Regions from separate parts of the Homo sapiens genome. Here region 2 is linked to region 1. Evidence: promoter capture Hi-C in 16 types of primary human blood cells and fetal thymus (Javierre and others, 2016). All regions are on one chromosome and are shown on one strand. The core of a region is centred on a gene start or on the middle of the fragment in contact, and the rest is flanking DNA. Distances in the headings are between cores, read along the strand shown. Region 1 holds the start of HOXB-AS2 (HOXB cluster antisense RNA 2). Region 2 overlaps SKAP1 (src kinase associated phosphoprotein 1).

Region 1 (4,627 bases), core at 1,458-3,957:
GTTCCCTCTTCTGTATCTCCAGTCTGTTCCGAAATCATGGCTTCACTCTCAGGGATGATAAGCCCTTCTCCTGCTTCTCTTTTCCCAGACCCCAAAGTCTTCCCTCAGCCTGCTCTGGCGTCCCCCACCCCAAGTTCCCTGCTCAAACTCCTCACTACCAGCCTTTATCCCCTGAAGTTTGAAAATCCCCTGGCTAGCAGCAACACCTCAGTCCAAACAGGGGCCCTTAGGGGTGCCTGTTCCACCCTCCGTCCTCCAGCCTCCCAGCCCTAATCAGAGGGCAGCCCGCCTGCTCGCCAGAGACCTCTGAGAATGGAAGAAAAAAGGCAAGACAGAAACTAAACTGGGATCTAATTGCCTCCCAAGTATTCCAAATGGGCTCTGTACTCCAGAATTAAGAAGCCCCCACTCCATCTCCTACCGCATTTGGGGGTATATGTCCTCTGAGATTTTCTCCAGGTTCATTTTCTTGCTTCTCGGTCCTCTTTTTCACTCCCACCCCACTATGCCCCACTGCCTTCTGTAGCCCGAGGGACCACAAAGAGTTGAGGAGGCTTGGGGAAGGGAGGGGTCTGCTGTTGTCTCTGGAACACTCCTCCACTCCCAGCTCAGCTCCAGGCCCGCTTCTCCTGCAGCCGGCCCGAGGCTGCCTGGGTGCCTTCTGGACTCTCGTGTTATTCCTAGAGGCAAAGCTGCGCAGTCCCAAAAGCGATCAGGTTCTCCTCTTCTCTCAGTTTTACAATGACCTTCTCTAACCCAATGATAGTAACAGCTAGGACAGCAGAGGTTTTGAGGTACATTCTTGGCTTTTTTTTTATTTGGGGGAGTGATAGAAAAAAAAACCCCAAAGGTACTGGTTTCTTTAAGCCTCTGGAAGCCTCCCTGGCCTGAGTCCCTGACCCACCAAGCTCAAAGTTACATGGGGTCTGACCCTGTAGGTCTCTAACCAGAGTGTAGAGATCTCAGGACAGACTTTTTGCAGCCACATGCTCAGGCACCCCTAACAGGTCTCTTTGGGGTTCCAGGCTGGCTTGAGCCCCAAGTCTAGGTCTGACTTGGATGTTTTATTTTCTTGATACTACTAATAAACACAGAAAAATACTAATAAACACAGAATAATAGCTAATAAACACAGAAAAATAGCTCCCACCCTCCATCCCCATGTCCCCCAACCCGTGCTTCCCCCCAGCTGTCAACTTTCTAGGTGGGAGGTGGGGTCCTCAGGACATTACATTCTGAGGCTCTGCAAGTGGCTTCTGTTGCTGGAGGGCAGGAAGGCCATAGGTACCCCCAGTTTATCAGGGCCCCTGGAAACCGGCTGCTCCAAATCACCTGGCCTGACTTAGCCTTGCCTGGAAGAAGTAGGGGCTGGAGGCCAGGGGCCACTCCCTATCTCATCCCAAAGTAGAGCCTGTGAGTGGGGAGAGAGAGGGAATGAGGGAAGCTTTGCCAGACACCTCCAACCTATGCTGGAGGGAACACAAAAGCTGGAAATCAACTCTCACCTTTGTTGTCCCCAGTCCCGTTCCCTCTTCTGGTGCATCCAGATGGGAGAAGGCAAAAGCCAAGTATTCTAACCAGGAAATCACAGGGTAGTGCCTTACATGAAGTTAAGAGGACCAGTTTTCCAAGCTGCCTTTAGAGAAAAGAGTCAGCTTTCTATTTCATCCCCTAGCTCCGAGTCAGCAGTTAGGCAGAGTTGCAAACACTCCTGCTTTGGGAAATGTCCTGGTGCTCTTTTTGTCTTTTCCTTCCTCCCGGAATGACTATTCCCCACCCCCTGTCCCAAATCTGCAGACACCTACATTTTTGGCTCCTGTCTTCCTCCTACAGGCCTCCTCCTTGCCTTTTCCTGCCCTGCTCAAACACACCCTAAGAAAACTTTAGCTTTTGTGGCCTTCCTCACTTGTGCCAAGAGTCATAAATCTTGCAGGGCAGAGAGAAACAAACAGGGTTGTTCTGAATAATAATAATAACCATCTTCCATCTCTTCTGCCAGTGCATTTAAAATTAAGCGACCCTGCTAGTTCTTCTCTTCTTAGAAGTACAAATGTCCTTATCACCTCTTAGCCCCTTCTGCCTATTCGGAGGTGAGAATCATAACAGAAACTTATCCATGAAGTTCTTTCAGCCCGTCTACTGCCAGCCAGTCTGGAGCTCAAACTAAAACACAGAGTCCTCCTTTTGTCACCCTTTTCTCAACCCTCCTCCCCCTGCAAGATGTTCAGAGTTTTTAAAATCATCACTCACCGCTTGTTGTCTGTTCTCAAAAAGAAAAAGGGGGAGGGGTGTTTTTTTTTTTTTTTTTTTTTTAAGTTCTGGTCTTTCCCTCTCCCTTGGTTAGAGACTGGGCCTGGAGACTGGAGGGAGATTTGGGAGGAATAGAGAGGGTGTAGTGGAGGGAAGAAGCCGGGGCTGGAGACTCAGAAGGAGGGAGCCAGAGTGTGAGGGTTGGAGACCCAGAACTACTTTCTAAAAAAGTCCTGGTGTTCCAATTGCGAATGAGTGCAGAGGGGCACCCGGCACCCTCACCCCCGGGCCAGGCCTGCCTTTGACTCAGCCTCCAAATACTACTTCTCATATTAGCATAATAGTTCACTAGTGGGGTATGGGGGGAGCTGTGAACTTCACCGCCCTTCCTTGCCTTTGCTCACCTCTTCCTCCCTGTCCCTCCAATCTAGATTTAAATTTTTACCTGTTCTTTAAGGAAAAAAAAAAAACCCTCCTTCTTTTCTTCTTACTCTTTTTTTGGGGAGGCGGGTATTTTAAAATTTCCCCCCTTCCCCATCACCACCATCACCTTCCCTCCTTATCAGGCATCTAAGCTTGCTAAAGGGGGAGAGGTGGGGGGGTGTGAGCTTGTGTGTGAGTGAGTGTGTGTGTGTGTCTGTGTGGTTTTTTTTCCCTGTGCAAAAGCAGAGGCCATTGTTACGGAGAGTAGGGCGTACCAGTCTTATAGGGCAACCACACTGTGGCGGCTTAGCCCTGCTGGAGCCCGGAGCTGGATTCTGGCGAGCTGAGCCGCCCGGCACCTTTCGGTCTTCTATTTTTTTTCCCGCTCCCCCACCCCCTCCCTCCTGCGCACCCCTGCTCCTAAGCCGAGTGAATTGAAGCGGACGCCGCGCGGCTCCTCTGGCCGGTCTGCCCCTCGGGCTCCCCAGCCGGGGTGGCTTTGCGGGGCGGGGGCGGGGGGGCGGGGGGCGACGCAGCTTTAAACAGTGGTCTTTTTTTCCTTTGCCTTCAAGGAGGGGAGATTTGTCGCCTGCCGCTCGCTCTGGGGCTCGATGTGAATATATATTATGTCTGCCTGTTCTCCCCTCGTCGGTGGCTAAGGTAAGCTGGACTGAAATAGGCTATCAGTTTGTGAATGGCGGAGAGTATGTCTCAATGATTTATGGCCCATATGACTCCAATCTCGGTTCAAGAAGAGTTCACAAGCTTTAAGCTTCCTTCCACGCAGCGACTCTCTCTCTCCCTCCCTCCCTCCCTCCCTCCCTCCCTCTCTCTCTCTCTCTCTCTCTCTCTCTCCCTCTCTCTCTCCCCTCTCTCTTCCTGCTTCTCTCCTCTTTTCTCCTCTCTCTCTTTTCTTTCAGCAGCCAGATCCAGGGCTGAATTTTCTCCGCGGCTGCTAAGAAAGTCTCAACCTTTCTCTGTCTTCCTTTCTTGTTATTTTTCTTTCTCCCATTAATTTTTTTAAGTCCTGGAAGATGGCCTATCCCCTCTCTCGGGGCTTCCCCAGCTATTGTTACTCTCCTGGCTCTCCCTGGGGTGTGCTTGGCAAGGTGGGGTTCTTGCGGGGGGCTCATCTCCCTTCTCCAGCGAGACCCTGGGGGGAAGCCGGCAGCCACCGTCTCCCTCCCTCCCTCCCGAGGAGCCATATGGAACCTGAATTTTTCCAACATGGAGGCAAGGGAAATAGATCTGTTTGGCTTGGTAGAGTTGTTCCCCACCCCCTCTTGTTCTGGATCCCAGATCTTGGGTCCCCTTAGCACCTTTCTCTCTTCCCACTGTCCCGTCCGCCAGGCCTCGGCGCCCTCCAACCCGGAGCCCTGCTGAGCAAAGTCCCGAAGCGGAGTTTCTAAGGCGCCTTTTAATTCGGTTACCTCCAGCTCCCAAAACTTGCTGCCGCCCGCGGGGCTCGGCCCTCGGCCGGCTGGTGTGCTGGGAACCTGCCTCCGATAACCGTTTTGGTGTCCTGATCGCTTGCTCTTCTTCGCCTCCTTGGGCCATCGTAGGTGGCTGGTAGCTTGTCGCCAGTCGCCGCGGCAGCAGCGACCGGCTGAGGCAGCCTGGCAGCAGCAGCCAGGGACTACCCGGGTGCACAAACCTTCCCAGCCCTGTCTGCACCACCGGCGGAGTCTCCATTCTTTCCTATCGCGTCTCTGGCTCCTTCGCTTTCCACACTCGCCTGGCCTCCGTCCCGCGATGGTTTGGGGTTTATTGCAAGGGGAGCGGCAGGAATTTCGGCCCCAGGCATCTAGTTAAATTATTGTTTTATTATTATTACTATCATCATCATCGTCATCATTATTATTGCTGTAACAATCAGACTAAATAAAGCCAGGGCCTAGCCAGCCAACCCCCTCCAACGTTTTTATTTCATTCTCTTCTCTATTAATAACAACCA
Region 2 (4,886 bases), core at 1,348-3,847, 200 kb after region 1:
AGTAGGATTTATACAAAGAAACACAGCCCAAATTTATGACGTGTTTGCAAATGTAAGAAAAAGTCTAAATTTACAATATTTATAATTTATTGTTAAGTATCTTTCCACCACTATTCCTGGAATGCTGATATTTTATAAACACAAGCACTGGTTTTGAACCTAGACTATCTCAACCTATACTACTTTTTAAAAAAAGAAATATTCCAGCATGTTTTTCATGTCTTTTGGGGATTTAATAAGGGGGAAATGAACCCAGGCTGAATACTCCTGCCTTTGGCTTTGACTCAACCTTTTAACATCAACAGTCTTGACAGCTGCTTTTGTGGCTTGACTTCCTTCAGGCATTTTCCCCCTTTTTCTTATTTGCTACATTTTATACAAATTAATCTGTAGCAAGTGGACACACACACAAACTGTTTTTGAAGTTAATTACTAATTTTGATACCTTTTCAAATAATTTACTTCCTATACATCTACTGGTAGGGTGGTTTTTTTAGTGGAATAATGCATTTTTAAAAGGGCAGAATAATGCATTTCAAAATTAATGCAGCAATTGTTTTGCAATGACTATCAAAGATTCTTCTTTTTTCTTTTTTTCTGAGACAGAGTCTCGCTCTGTCACCCAGGCTGGAGTGCAGTGGCACGATCTTGGCTCACTGCAAGCTCTGCCTCCTGGGTTCAAGCAATTCTCCTGCCTCAGCCTCCCGAGCAGCTGGGACTACAGGCGCCCGCCACCACGCCCGGCTAATTTTTTGTATTTTTAGTAAAGACAGGGTTTCACCGTATTAGCCAGGATGGTCTCGATCTCCTGACCTCATGATCCATCCGCCTCAGCCTCCCAAAGTGCTGGGATTATAGGCGTGAGCCACTGCACCCGGCCAAAAGATTTTTTTTTTAACAAAAAGACTCACTTTTTTCCTTTCTAAAGTTAACATTTCCCAAGATTTTTATGTCCTTTCTAAAAGTCCTTCCTATTCTGTAGTAGATGATATTAAGATATAAAAAAAGAACTAAATTTTATGCAGGTAAAAGAAATCATTGGAATCAGGTAATGCTGCCTTCTGTATTCCCTATACAATGTATTATGTACAAGGATGTTCATGATAGCATTGTTTGGAATAGCAAACAGACAGCCTAAATGCCCAGCAATTGGGGACTAGTTAAATAAACATACACCCATTTAATGGAATGCTATATAGAGTTAAAAGAAAATGATACATATATATGTAATATGTATGTAATACGTAATATGGAAGGTTCTCCAAGGAGTATTGTTAGATGAAAAGGGTAATTTGAGCAAACTAGTGTGTATAGTTTGTTTCTGTGTGTGTGTGTGGCACAAGCACACGTGTTTTTATTTGTATATAGAATATTTTTGGAAGGATACATATGTATCTATTAACAGTGGTAATCACTGTTGAGGGGGATACTGATATGAATGAAAGAGAGAATATTCTTTGGTACTATTTGAATTTTCACCATGTGCATGTATTATTTTTTAATGTTAAAAACTGGTTAAAATAAAAAATGAGATAAATCTATATTGCTGATATGGAGCAGTTGTCAAGATAAATGGTTAGGAAGAAAAGCTGGATACAGAACAGAACAAATGTTACCATTTGTTTAAAAAGAGGAAAAAAATACATATGCCACACACACAGAGACCCTTGTTATATTAGATACAAAAATTCATAGAACACCCAAGAAATCTCACAATGGTTGTCTCTGGAGAGAAGGATCAAGAGAAGAGAGGATAGATGAACTTTCATTATATGCCTTCCTGTAACATTTGAAGGTTTTGCTCTGGGCATACTTAACTTTTTTTATTTAATAAAGAAGCTTTCCAAAACAAACAAAAAAACAGCATGGTAGTAATCTATTTTTCAGTAGAATCATGATTAGCAGTTTCTTACCCACTCAAGTTTTCATCTATCTATCTATCTATTTATTTATTTATTTATTTTAGTTTTTGAGACAGAATCTCGCTCTGTCACCTAGGCTGGAGTGCAGTGGCTTGATCTCGACTCACTCACTGCAGCTTCCATCTCCCAAGATCAAGTGATCCTCTCACTTTGGCCTCCCCAGTAGCTGGGACTACAGGCATGAGCCACCATGCGCAGCTAATTTTTGTATTTTTTGTAGACATAAGGTCTCACCATGTTACCAGGCTGGTATCGAAATTTTGGGCTCAAGAGATTTGCCCACCTCAGTCTCCCAAAGTGCTGGGATTATAGGCATGAGCCACTGCTCCTGGCCTATTTATTTTGAAATGTTAATTAATGGGAAAGGCCCTGATGATGGTATAAAACAGCAGCATTCTCTGTTGTTTAATGTTTGAGAACGTTGGTATATATAGGTGTGTTGAGTTTACTTATCACTTAAAAGTGAATTTTTTTTTTTTTTTAGACAGAGTCTCGCTCTGTCACCCAGGCTGGAGTGCAGTGGCACGATCTCAGTTTACTGCAACCCCCACCAATAGGTTCAACCAATTCTTATGCCTCAGCCACCCAAGTAGTTGAGATTACAGGCATGTGCCACCATGCCCGGCTAATTTTTGTATTTTTAGTAGAGATGGGGTTTTGCCATGTTGGCCAGGCTGGTCTCGTACTCCTGGCCTCAAGTGAAAAAGTGAATTTAAAAATAAATTATATGGCCAGTCATGGTGGGTCACATCTGTAATCTCAGCCCTTTGGGAAGCCGAGGGAGGCTGATTGCTTGAGCCTGGGAGTTCCAGACCAGCCTGGGCAATACAGAGAGACCCCATCTTTATAGAAGATACAAAAATTAGCCAAGCATGGGGGTGTGCACCTGTGGTCCCAGCTACTTTGGAGGTTGGGGTGGGAGGATCACTTGAGCCTGAGAGGTCAAGGCTGCAGGGAGCTGCAATTGCACCACTGCACTCTGGCCTGGGTGACTGAGTGAGACCCTGTCTCAAAACAAAAACAAAACAAAAATAATAACAATTTTAAATTAGTATTGTATAATACTCATGGTGACTGATAATGATATCTTTTCTTACCCCATCTTAGTCTTTTTAGAAGTTCACAGAACTTCAGATTTTCGTCTTCACATAGATGTCAAGGAAAATCAAGTCACTGAAAATTAATGACTGCTTTAAGTTTGTTTGATTAGCCCAGGGGACTTTGGTTGAGGAAAAAAACAACTTATAAATGATTTCTCTTAGAAGGTATTATTCCTGGACTAACACAGAAAATCAGGTGAGGAGTACAGTTTCTGAGCATAGAATTTTTACATAAGAATTAGTGTTCATCAAGACTTGTGCCTCTAACAAACTTTCATGTTCTAAACACAAAATATTGAGAGAAAAGTGTAGTCCATTTGAATACAAGCTTTTTTGTTTTTTTTGCTTAAAACTTTTTTGTGAGTAAGTAGGTTAAGACTTCAGACCTGAAACCCAATGAATTTGCTTGATATTTTGAGGCTAAATAATGTAATAGGTGGACCCAATTCTATTAGAAAGCATTTATTTTTCATTTGGCTTCTCATCAACACATGCTTCTCTCAGAAACTTGTTTATGAAGATGGCTAAGTATCACTAGCACAGGAAAGGGACTGCTAAGTTATAGGCAAGGGGATTTATATGACATATAAAATAAAGATTCCAGTTTCTGCTGACTCTTGTGAGGCAAGTAGTGGAAGAACCAATCTTGTGAACCCTATCGGTCCTTGTCAGCTGATGTGAATTTAACACACATTTGCCATCCTGGAAAAGTTATTGATCATGATTAATCTCTAAAATGTATTTTCCTAAACTTAAAAAGTGATACCACTTACCCTTAAGATTTATGCACTTTACTTGTGTTAGTGATGCCTCAATTAAAAAGTAATTTTTTTAAATAAAGAGATACTTTTTCATGTGAAACTTTTTTTCCAAGGAACCAAATATTGAACTGAATTCTTGACAGTGAGAGGTTTTGGCTGTTGATAATGATGTTACATACATGTTGTCAAATATGTGAATGAGAATCCCTGTTTGGAGTGGGATGTGGCATGGGGAGGTTGAATCTTGTCACCATTTGCCATTACAGCTTTAGTGGTATTGGAGGTTTATGTTATCACAAAGAAAACTTACCCTTTCTTCAGTATGTTAAAAGCTGGCTCACATGTTTAGGCCTGCTAATCTTACCCATAATCCATTCTTTACTATGTATTATTTTATTTTTACTCCTTGGACTTTTGAAAAACATTTCTTATATCTACCTGTAGCCTGTACAACATGTCTTCTTCTTCTTCTTCTTTTTCTTCCTCTTCTTCTTCTTCTTCTTCTTCCTCTTCTTCTTTCTTCTTTTCTTTTCTTTTTTTTTTTTTTTGAGACAGAGTCTTGCTCTGTCACCCAGGCTGGAGTGCAATGGCGCGATCTCGGCTCACTGCAACCTCTGCCTCCTGGGTTTTAAGCAATTCTCTCTGCCTCAGCCTCCCAAGTAGCTGGGATTACAGGCACCTGCCACCACGCCCAGCTAATTTTTGTATTTTTAGTAGAAATGGGGTTTTGCCATGTTGGCCAGGCTGATCTTGAACTCCTGACCTCAGGTGATTCACCTGCCTCGGCCTCCCAAAGTGCTGCAATTATAGGCATGAGCCACTGCACCCGGCCATCTCATTCTTCTTTAATGGAAGATATTGGAATCCAACTAGCCTTGTAGTTTCTCTCAAGAAGTTTCTTAAGTAATGTTGGCTTACCAATTGGGGCATAGTAGACCCCAAAATGTATCAGGATTGTAAATAAGTGCTAAGGCCTACTACAACTTGCTGTTTGGGAGAAAGGAAAGATGGGACAAGAAAGCAAGATGAACCAATAGTAATAAAATTGCTACATTTATGTGGCATTATATATTTTTCAAAGGCTTTTCCTGCTCTGAGACTTA

What was found. The method cuts DNA at HindIII sites, captures the fragments that hold promoters and counts their contacts. A CHiCAGO score of 5 or more calls a contact.
Region 2: a fragment that was not itself captured here is called in contact with the fragment with the promoter of HOXB-AS2 in region 1 in 15 of 17 cell types (naive B cells, naive CD4 T cells, total CD8 T cells and 12 more); the score reaches 10.5 in naive B cells.

The regions. Positions count from the first base shown.
Region 1 is chr17:48,554,237-48,558,863 of GRCh38, reverse strand. HOXB-AS2 (HOXB cluster antisense RNA 2) reads right to left here and starts at 2,707. Exons shown (of 2, transcript NR_046610.1): 1 at 1,506-2,707. It overlaps HOXB3 (homeobox B3), which reads left to right. Exons shown (of 5, transcript NM_001384749.1): 3 at 3,246-3,333. The HindIII fragment of the contact is 1,381 bases long and covers 1,447-2,827 here.
Region 2 is chr17:48,353,343-48,358,228 of GRCh38, reverse strand. All of the region lies in intron 3 of SKAP1 (src kinase associated phosphoprotein 1), which reads left to right. Among named protein-coding and RNA genes, the nearest start is that of SKAP1-AS2, 61 kb to the right of the region's middle. The HindIII fragment of the contact is 1,511 bases long and covers 1,842-3,352 here.